2 separate regions of the Homo sapiens genome follow, and region 2 is linked to region 1. The links are contacts of gene promoters, found by promoter capture Hi-C in human tissues and cell types (Jung and others, 2019). All regions are on one chromosome and are shown on one strand. Each heading gives the region's core, a stretch centred on a gene start or on the middle of the fragment in contact. The rest is flanking DNA. Distances are from core to core; before and after follow the strand shown. Region 1 holds the start of RC3H1 (ring finger and CCCH-type domains 1). Region 2 has its middle 32 kb from the start of DARS2.

Region 1 (4,536 bases), core at 1,418-3,917:
GTGTTTTTTTTGAGACGGAGTTTCATTCTTGTTGCCCAGGCTGGAGTGCAATGGCACGATCTCGGCTCACTGCAACCTCCGCCTCCCAGGTTCAAAGGATTCTCCTGCCTCAGCCTCCCTAGTAGATGGGATTACAGGTGCCTGCCACCACGCCCAGCTAATTTTTTTGTATTTTTAGTAGAGACGGGGTTTCACCATGTTGGCCAAGCTGGTCTTGAACTCCTGACCTTAGGAGAGCCACCCTCCTCAGCCTCCCAAAGTGCTGGGATTACAGGCGTGGGCCACAATGCTCTGCCAAGACCGAGTCTTGCTGTCATCCAGGCTGGAGTGCAGTGGTACAATCTTGGCTCACTGCAGCCTCTGCCTCTCAGGTTCAAGTGATTCTCCTGCCTCTGTCTCCTGAGTAGCTGGGACTATAGGCGCGCGCCACCACGCCGGGCTTTTTGTATTTTTGGTAGAGACGGGGTTTCACCATGTTGGCCAGAATAGTCTGCATCTCCTGACCTCGTGATCTGCCTGCCTCGGCCTCCCAAAGTGCTGGGATTACAAGCGTGAGCCACCGCTCCCGGCCTTATCCCCTGTATCTTACACTTCTAGTCTGACTGGGGAGTTGAAAACATATGACTTCTCACAGATTAGTTTTTTATTTTTTATTGTAAGCATAAGTGTTTTCTTCAAAGCTGCTCTTCTTTTTCTGTCAAATGCATCTTTATATCACTAAAATGAATTTGGGTTTGGGGAAGCGCCGCCATTTTTAACTTTTTTTTTTTTTTTTTTTTTTTTTTTGAGACAGAGTTTAGCTCTTTTTGCCCAGACTGGAGTGCAATGGCGTGATCTCGGCTCACTACAACCTCCACCTCCCAGGTTCAAGTGATTCTCCTGCCTCAGCCTCCCGAGTAGCTAGGACTATAGGTGCACGCCACCACACCTGGCTAATTTTTGTATTTTTAGTAGAGATGGGGTTTCTCCACGTTGGTCAGGCTCCGGACCTCAGGTGATCCGCCCCCCTCAGCCTCCTAAAATGTTGGGATTACAGGCGTGAGCCACTGCATCTATCTGTCCTTTAACGTATTTTTAATTGAAATATTGACGAGATAAAAATAAACAACGTAAAAATCATACTGCTTAAGGGAACCTTTAAGGAGCCTTACCAACTGTGGTATAACTATTAATAGTTCAAAGAAATTACATTATCTAGGTTACTTGCAATGGAAGTTGAGTTACTCGCTTCACCTAAACAAGGAAGTTGGCATGTTTGCCTAGCAACAGTCGCTAAAACCTTCTGTTGTGGAAGGTTCCCTAGGAGTGAGAAGAAGGGAGGAGGAGGAAAAGCAGGAGGAGCAGATTAATCTGTTTTTCCTAGCAGGGTACAGAGGCCTGGTCTGAGAAGGGAAAGGCTTTAAGAGATCCCTTTAGATTGGCACATGCTAACCTAAATCCCCCTGTGGTAGCTAGAAATTCACTCTCTGTAGGACTGGGGTTACTATTTAGTAGGCTGAAAAGACGATTACAGATTAAACCCAGTTCAGAGGCAGCAAATTCCAATCAGTGGAAAGACAACAATAGGTCTTCTAAACAGAAGCTGAGATCTCAGTAGCAGGAGGGTGCTAACAACTAAAAAGAATTCTTCTCTGCCAAGAGTTTAGGAAGGTGTGTGATATTTCTTAAAAATAATACAAAAACACTATCTGTGATAGCGATTCCAATGTATCAAGTTAAAGGCAGAAGTGCTTCTCTTGGGGTACTGTGATGTAAACAGTGAAGAAAGGACAGAAAAACATAATCTCTGCTCTCTTGGTCAAATCCTGAAGCAAAAAAGGTGATAGCGCCGAGTAGAGGTATTAAATGGTTGTTTATTTGGGGACTCTCTCTCTCCTCTATTCTAGATGATTTATTTTGAAATTAGTACTGTATGGTGTTACAATAATCCCATTTCTTCCCCTTCTCAAAAGCGAGGGTTTGGCTAAAATGAATTGTCTGAAGGGACCTCCCATTCCCCAAAACCAAAACGGCACCTTTTCCACAAGGGACAAGAAACTTTTAAAGAGTCGCAAGGTTAGATTTCAGGAGCCCTTCTATGGGCCATATCTTTTCCTGTCGTCCCCAAATAGCTCTTATTGTTCACACAGCCCAGGAGAGACGTTTTGGAGTAGCGTGTCCGGGCCTTTTGGGCTGTTTCACAGCCTTAGGAGGCTGAACTCCCAGAGGGGTGACGAGGACAAAGCTGATGAGATCCAGAACCTGGATAATATGGAAGAAGAAAAATGGGGTGGGGGACAAGACGTGAAAAAGAAACAAGAGTTGGGGGACAACGGCTGAGAAAGCCGAAAGAGTAGACGTAGTGTGGGGTTCGATGGAAACGAAAGAAATTCCCCCAATTTACTCTCGCCATCTGGCCACTGGCCCGCTGAGCCCAAAGGCGCCGGTGCGGGAGGGCAGACCGGACCGAGGGACCGGTTCATCTGCTCAGGGCGTGTGAGACTTTCGGTCGCGGCGGAGAGCGTCGCCGGTCTCCCTCCGGGCGTTGGTGGCCGGTGACTCAGAGCTTTGCTCCCGCGCCCGCCCCTCCCCTCCGCCCGCCCCGCCTCCTGAGGGAGGATCCTCGCCCTCGTCTCCGCCCCAGTCTCCGGGGCGGGCCGGAGCCTGAGGAAGAGGAAGGGGACGAGGACAACGAGCGACTGGGCGGCGGAGGACGAGGAGGAGGAAGAGGAGGCCGAGCAACAAGATGGCCCCTGCTGCAGGAGCAGCCTCAGCAGCAGCAGGTGGGAGGCCGGAGGCGGTGCTGGCGGTGGCGGCGGCAGCCGTGGCCCGGCGGCCTGGGACAGAATCAGAGTCAACGGTGGCCTCGGCGGCGGCGGCGGCTGCCGCGGCGGTGGCGACGGCCGCGGGGACTCGGAGCTGAGAGGAGCTGCTGCTCGGACCAGCGCGGTGAGCGAGCGGCGGGCGGCGACTTGGGGAGCGGGGCTGCCGCGGCCGGGGCCTCAGTCGGGAACAATAGGCAGCTGTGGTCGGGAAGGGTTTGTCCTCGCCCGCCCTCTGCTCCTCCGCGGCAGCGGCAGCCCGGCCGGCCCCAGGCTCCTCAGGGCCCCCGCCGGCTGTTCTGGGGCTTGTCAGTGGCCGGCGTCCTTTAGGCCTCAGGCCTCTGCATGCCGCCTGTAGGGCCTGTCGGGGTAGGTAGGCCGAGAGGAGGACGAAGGGAGGCTCGGACGAGAGGGAGGGGGCGAAAGGGCTACCTGGCTCCTGTGGTACTCCCAGGGCCTGGGCCAGGCGGGGAATGCGCACGGGAACTGCTTTTTGGACCCCTAGTCTGTGGGGGTGGGGGAGGGCGAAGGCGTCTGTAAACAGGCGCCGCCTCGGCCTCCCAGCACCTCAGGGCTGCTTCCTCCCCCAGCCCCTGAAGCGCTCCCCTTCTTTGGCCAAGTGGATTTCACGGTGTCTGTTTCCCTGAAGTCCCTGGAGATCTAGCCTGGTAGTCTTCTCCCTGCTGGCGATGGGAAAATTGTGTGTGTGCAGGTGTCTTTAAAAAAAAAAAACAAAAAACTTAAATGCAACAAAAACATATAAAATGTGGTTATCGGTAAAGGATGGAGTGGTAAGGGATGCGCCTCTCTAAACATCTCTAAGTATCAGTTCTATAAACATCAGTTATGCCCGCATCCCAGGTGAGAGTGGATTGAAACAAGGGCTCTTTTGGAACAGTAATAACACAACTCTTGACATACCAGAATAGCCTATGAAACTGGAAACAAACACTGGCAACGCGGAGACAAACTGTAATGTTTAAAGAGGACTTTTATTCCAGCTAGGCGTTTTGAATTACTAACATGCAGTATAAGAAGCAACATTAACTAGCATAAAGTGGACCTCAGGAAGCACTTCGAAAGGAGACAGGTGGTTCATCTCCGGCCATAGAGCTTCTTGTGCCTTGTCTCGTGTTTCAGTAATTTTTCCTGAAATTGTTCAAGACCAGTCTTTTCTCTGAGTTTGAAATTTGATTTCGTTTTTGTTTTGTTTTGCGACGGAGTCTTGCTCTGTCACCCAGGCTGGATTGCAGTGGCACAATCTCGGCTCACTACAGCCTCCACCTCCCGGATTCAAGCGATTCTCCTGCCTCACCATCCGGAGTAGCTGGGATTACAGGCGCCCGCCACCATGCCCGGCTGATTTTTGTATTTTTAGTAGAGACGGGGTTTCACCATGTTGGCCAGGCTGGTCTGGAACTCCTGACCTCAAGTCATCTGCCCTCCTCCGCCTCCCAAAGTGCTTGGATTACAGGCGTGAGCCACCTCGCTCAGCCTTAAACTTAATTTTTCAAGGCTTCTACCACATTTTCTTACAAGTGAGGGAAAAGGTAGATTTATTTCTAAAGTACTTTCTACCTAGGTATGCAGAAATTTATATTAAAATCGCTTGGATACATCCAAGGAGATTGCTTTTCACTTGTTAACATTCAACTGCAAGGCCTAAGGGTTATAGGTTGTGTTCTTTTCAGCACTGACCTGTGCTGAAAAGATGCCAGTTAATATCTTTCACCTC
Region 2 (4,525 bases), core at 821-3,320, 230 kb after region 1:
AGGATCAGCTTGTCAATTGTTGCCAAAAAAAAAAAAAACTTCCTGGGATTTTGATAATGATTGTGTTGAATTCATAGGGCAGTTTGGGGAGTGTTGCCATAATGATAGTAAATCTTCTAATCTATGAGCAGGATGTTTTTCCATTTATTTAATCTTTAAATATTTTATTATTTTAGATCTATTGAGAATGGAATTGTTTTCTTAATTTCATTTTCAAATTGTTTGTTGCTAGCATATAGAAATACAAGTGATTTTGTATATTGCTCTTGTATCCTGTGACTTTGCTGAGCTTATTTTAGTAGTTTTTTTTCACTGAATTCTTTAGGATTTTCTACATAAAAAATTCATATCATCTGTGAATAAAGACAGTTTTATTTCTTAATTTTTAATCTTTTGTTTCTTTTTCTTGCTGAATTGCCTTGGCTAGAATCTCCAGTACAATGGTGAATAGAACTGGTAAGAATATACATTTTCGTCTTGTTTTTAGTAGGAAAGCATCATGTCTTTTACAATTAAATATGATGTTGGCTGTAGGTTTTTTCATAGATGTCATTTATCAAGTTAAGAATGATCCTTTCTATTCCTAGTTTGTTGAGGGGTTTTATTATGAATAGGTGTTGCACTTTGTCAAAATTTTTTTTCGGCATCTACTGAGGTTATTCATGATTTGCTAAAAAACACATAGCTTTGTTTACTGGAGAGGCCCGGAAGCAGTAAAAAGCCATTAACAATGAACATTACTAACACACAGATTATGTTCTATAAGTATTTCCCACTAAAAGGAGCTAAAACTTCTTGAGGAAGGGCTGATTTCAGGTTTGGGACAAGAAATGTATAAAAATAACCTTTCATATATCAGAAAAGCAAGATAGCTATCAACAGTTGTGTCAAAAGGCTAGGAGCCAAAATGAAGGGGGACCCTACTTGCCAAAGGTGAGACAATTCACATATCAAAAGGAAAAAGTGTAATTGATTGAATATATAAAAATTTATTTATATCAATATTAAAGTAAAAATAATTTATGAGCTCATACTAATACTAAACAAAATTTTAGAAATTGGTGTTACTTTTGGAGGTTGCTGCAGAATCAAGTTCTGAAAATTGGTAAAGGGGAGAAGCAAACATTTTCTACTTTCTAGTATAAATTATATTTCAAGATAATCAAATAGCTGATCAAGGTAAGTTTTTTAGATATATTTCAGCTGATAAATGCAAAGGAATGAGAAGGCATCATTTATAACTCTCAGTGAAATAATAGATGTAAGCATCAATCATTAGTATCTGCTTAAACCCTTAGGTGAAAGATTGATGGAGTATTTTATAATGGAGCTAGCTGATAACACCCGAGGCCACTACCCACTGTTAGTATCTCTAAACACGGGCTGTCTAGGTATCACGTATGTTATGACTGGGTGCTATAGAGCACCTATGAAGTATTTCTAACAGCCTCTTTTTTTTTTTTTTTTTTTTTGAGACGGAGTCTTCCTCTGTCGCCCAGGCTGGAGTGCAGTGGCGTGATCTTGGCTCACTGCGAGCTCTACCTCCTGGATTCACGCCATTCTCCTGCCTCAGCCTCCTGAGTAGCTGGGACTACAGGCGCCCGCCACTATGTCCGGCTAATTTTTTTTTTTTGTATTTTTAGTAGAGACGGGGTTTCACCGTGGTAGCCAGGATGGATAACAGCCTCTTAATGTGAGTATCTTCGTAGAGAAATACGTTTAACTATATCTGTTGCAGTGCAGATACACACACCAAATAGAATAGAAACTATAGAAGAATTTCTAAAATTAAAGGGCAAAGGAACGAAATAGAAATTTGACCAAGTGAGCAAAAGAAGGGACAGGAAAAAAAGAAAACTTCAAAGTATAATAGTAAACAAATTAAGTGGTAACTAGGGGAATTTTAACATTGATTGGGTATTAGATGATATTAAGGAATGTTTATTTTATCAAGTGTGATAATGTTGTTATAGTTAGACCTTATCTGTTAAATACTCAAATGTGGGTGAAATACAGTCATGCATCACTTAACGACAGGGGTATGTTCTGAGAAATATGTCTTTAGGTGATTTCATCTTTGTATAAACATCACGGAGTGTACTTACATAAATCTAGATGGTATAGCCTACCATATACCTAGGCTATATGGGATAGCCTGTTGCTCCTAGGCTACAAACTTGTACAATGTATTACTTACTGTACTGAATACTGTAGGCAACACAATGGTAAGGATTTGTGTATCTAAACATATCTAAACATAGAAAAGGCACTGTAAAAACACAGTATTATAATCTTATGAGACCACTGTCATATATGTGGTCTGTCAATGACCAAAACGTTGTTATGAATGAAGTGCATGACTTTAAGGTGATGGCTGGGATCTGCTTTAAAATACTTCAGTGGTGATGGAGAGGAGAAGTAAGAGTGGGAGGAGACAGATAAAACAAAATTTACAAAATCTGTTAATTTTTGAAGCTGGATGGTTGGTATATGGAGGTTCATGGGTTTCTTATATTCTTTTATGTATTTGCATTTCCCAGAGTGTGAAAGATGAGAGAAAAACACTCAAGACAAAAGCTAGATTCTTTTTAAGCCTAATTTTGGAAGTGACATACCACCCCCCTATACTTTTTAATAGAGTTTATTTTTTAGAGCAGTTTTAGGTTCACAACAAAATTCAGTGGATGTTTACAGAGATTTCCCATATACCCTTTTTCTCTACAAATGCATAGCCTCACCCATTATCAACATTCCCCACCAGAGTTCCTAGCATCGCTATTAGGCACACAGACCAGACCAACCCTGGTGCATTTTGGGAGAGGATTACACAAGGGTGTGAATACCAGAATGCAGGGATCACTGGGGGCCTCTTAGAGCCTGACCGTGTACACCCTCACAGAACTTACTAGAATTAACATCAGAAAAGAAAGCTGAGAGAAAAGTACTGGGATATGAGGCCCTTATGATGATACCTGGTTCTCCTGTCTTATTTCTGGACACAGGCTTTTTTTACTTTATTCTCCTGAAAGCAGACTGCTTTGATTTCCCTGAACAGCCCATGCTGTCTCACTGCCTTCCTTCTGTATATCTTACACATGCTGCTCTGCCTGGAATGTCCTTTCCACTCTTGTCCACTTAGCAAAACTATTACTCTCTTTCAAACCTTTCTCAGGCTTAACTTCTTTTCTAATCATTCTTACAGTCCACATCAGGGCAGACTATTGAATCGCTTCTGCTGGGCTATGTAAATAATTCAATTGTTGCATGTTTTATACTGAGATGCATTATGTAAAACATTACCTGCCTTATTACCTGAAGTTTGGTGGTTTTGTTTGTTTGTTTTAAAGAAAGGCAGACTGCCACATGCAGCAACTCACTTGGATGTGTCTGGAGTCTTGGAAGCTTGACTTCAAAGAACCCTACGTTCTCTTACAAATGAACCTTGAGAGCTTGTTTGGAGGTTCTAGTAGGGGAATGCAGCTACTTGTATACCCTTGACTGCAGACTGGCCTTCCTCTATTGGGGATGGCTGTCCTCTTCCACTGAGTGTGCACAGCTTCAAGAGGGAAGCACATGGAGTGGTGAGGGAGGAAGGGGACTCCTGCCTAGCTAGCCAGATCAGCCGAATCAACCCTGGCGATCAATAGAGTGACAGATGTCACAGTCAGATCGCCCTCATATCTGGCTGGCTTTTTTCGAGACAGGGTCTTGCTCTGTCAATGAGGCTGTAGTGCAGTGGTGTGATCATGCACTGGCCCAAGTAATCCTCCCACCTCAATCTCCCAAGTATCTGGGACCAGAGGCATGTGCCAACACACCCAGCTTTTATATATATATATATATAATTAAAATTTATATATAACATAATTTATATATAATATATAATTTTAATATATAATTATATAGTATATACATTTTATATTTTATATATATAAATTTTATATATATATGTAGTTTTTTGTAAAGACGGTCTCTCTTATTTGCCTAAATTGGTCTTGAATTCCTGGGTTAAAGCGATTCTCCCGCCTTGCCCTCTCAAAGTGCTGGGGGATTTTATTAATAGGTATGAGCCACCGCTCTAGGCTGATGATATGAGTCTTAAATTCCTTTTACTCTGTCAGTTTCTCCCTCTCCACTTTCTTTCCTTGCAATTCAATTTTTGGAGAAGCAAAGTTATTTGTCTTGTAAAGTTTCGCACTTTTGAACTCTGCTCATTGAATTGCTATGAAGTTAACACATTCCTCTGTTCCTTTGTATTTCCTGTAAACTGGAAGATTTAGAGCAGCAGTTCTCAAACATTTTTGCCTTGAGATCCCTTTAAAGTCTCAAAAACTTGAGGACACAAAGAGCTTCTGTTTACATGCATTACATCTAGTGATTTACCATATTAGAAATTAAAATTGAGAAATTTAAAAAAATTAGTGCATCAAAAATAAACCTATTTATGTGCTTTTTTTTTTTTTTTGAGACTGAGTCTCACTCTGTCACCCAGGTTGGAGTGCAGTGGCATGATTTCGTCTCACTG

The links. Contacts are between HindIII fragments. The study calls those that stand out against the background at their distance.
Region 2: a contact is called between a fragment that was not itself captured here and the fragment with the promoter of RC3H1 in region 1, in 1 of the 25 tissues and cell types used here (aorta).

What each region holds. Positions count from the first base shown.
Region 1 is chr1:174,020,488-174,025,023 of GRCh38, reverse strand. It overlaps RC3H1 (ring finger and CCCH-type domains 1), which reads left to right and starts at 2,667. Exons shown (of 20, transcript NM_172071.4): 1 at 2,667-2,928. It overlaps RC3H1-DT (RC3H1 divergent transcript), which reads right to left and starts at 2,541. Exons shown (of 2, transcript NR_187284.1): 1 at 2,384-2,541; 2 at 1,834-2,241. RefSeq lists silencers at 2,432-2,681, 2,792-3,111 and enhancers at 3,318-3,857, 3,922-4,041. The HindIII fragment of the contact is 11,356 bases long and covers 1-4,536 here.
Region 2 is chr1:173,790,706-173,795,230 of GRCh38, reverse strand. It overlaps the pseudogene RN7SKP160. Among named protein-coding and RNA genes, the nearest start is that of DARS2, 32 kb to the left of the region's middle. The HindIII fragment of the contact is 6,146 bases long and covers 1-4,525 here.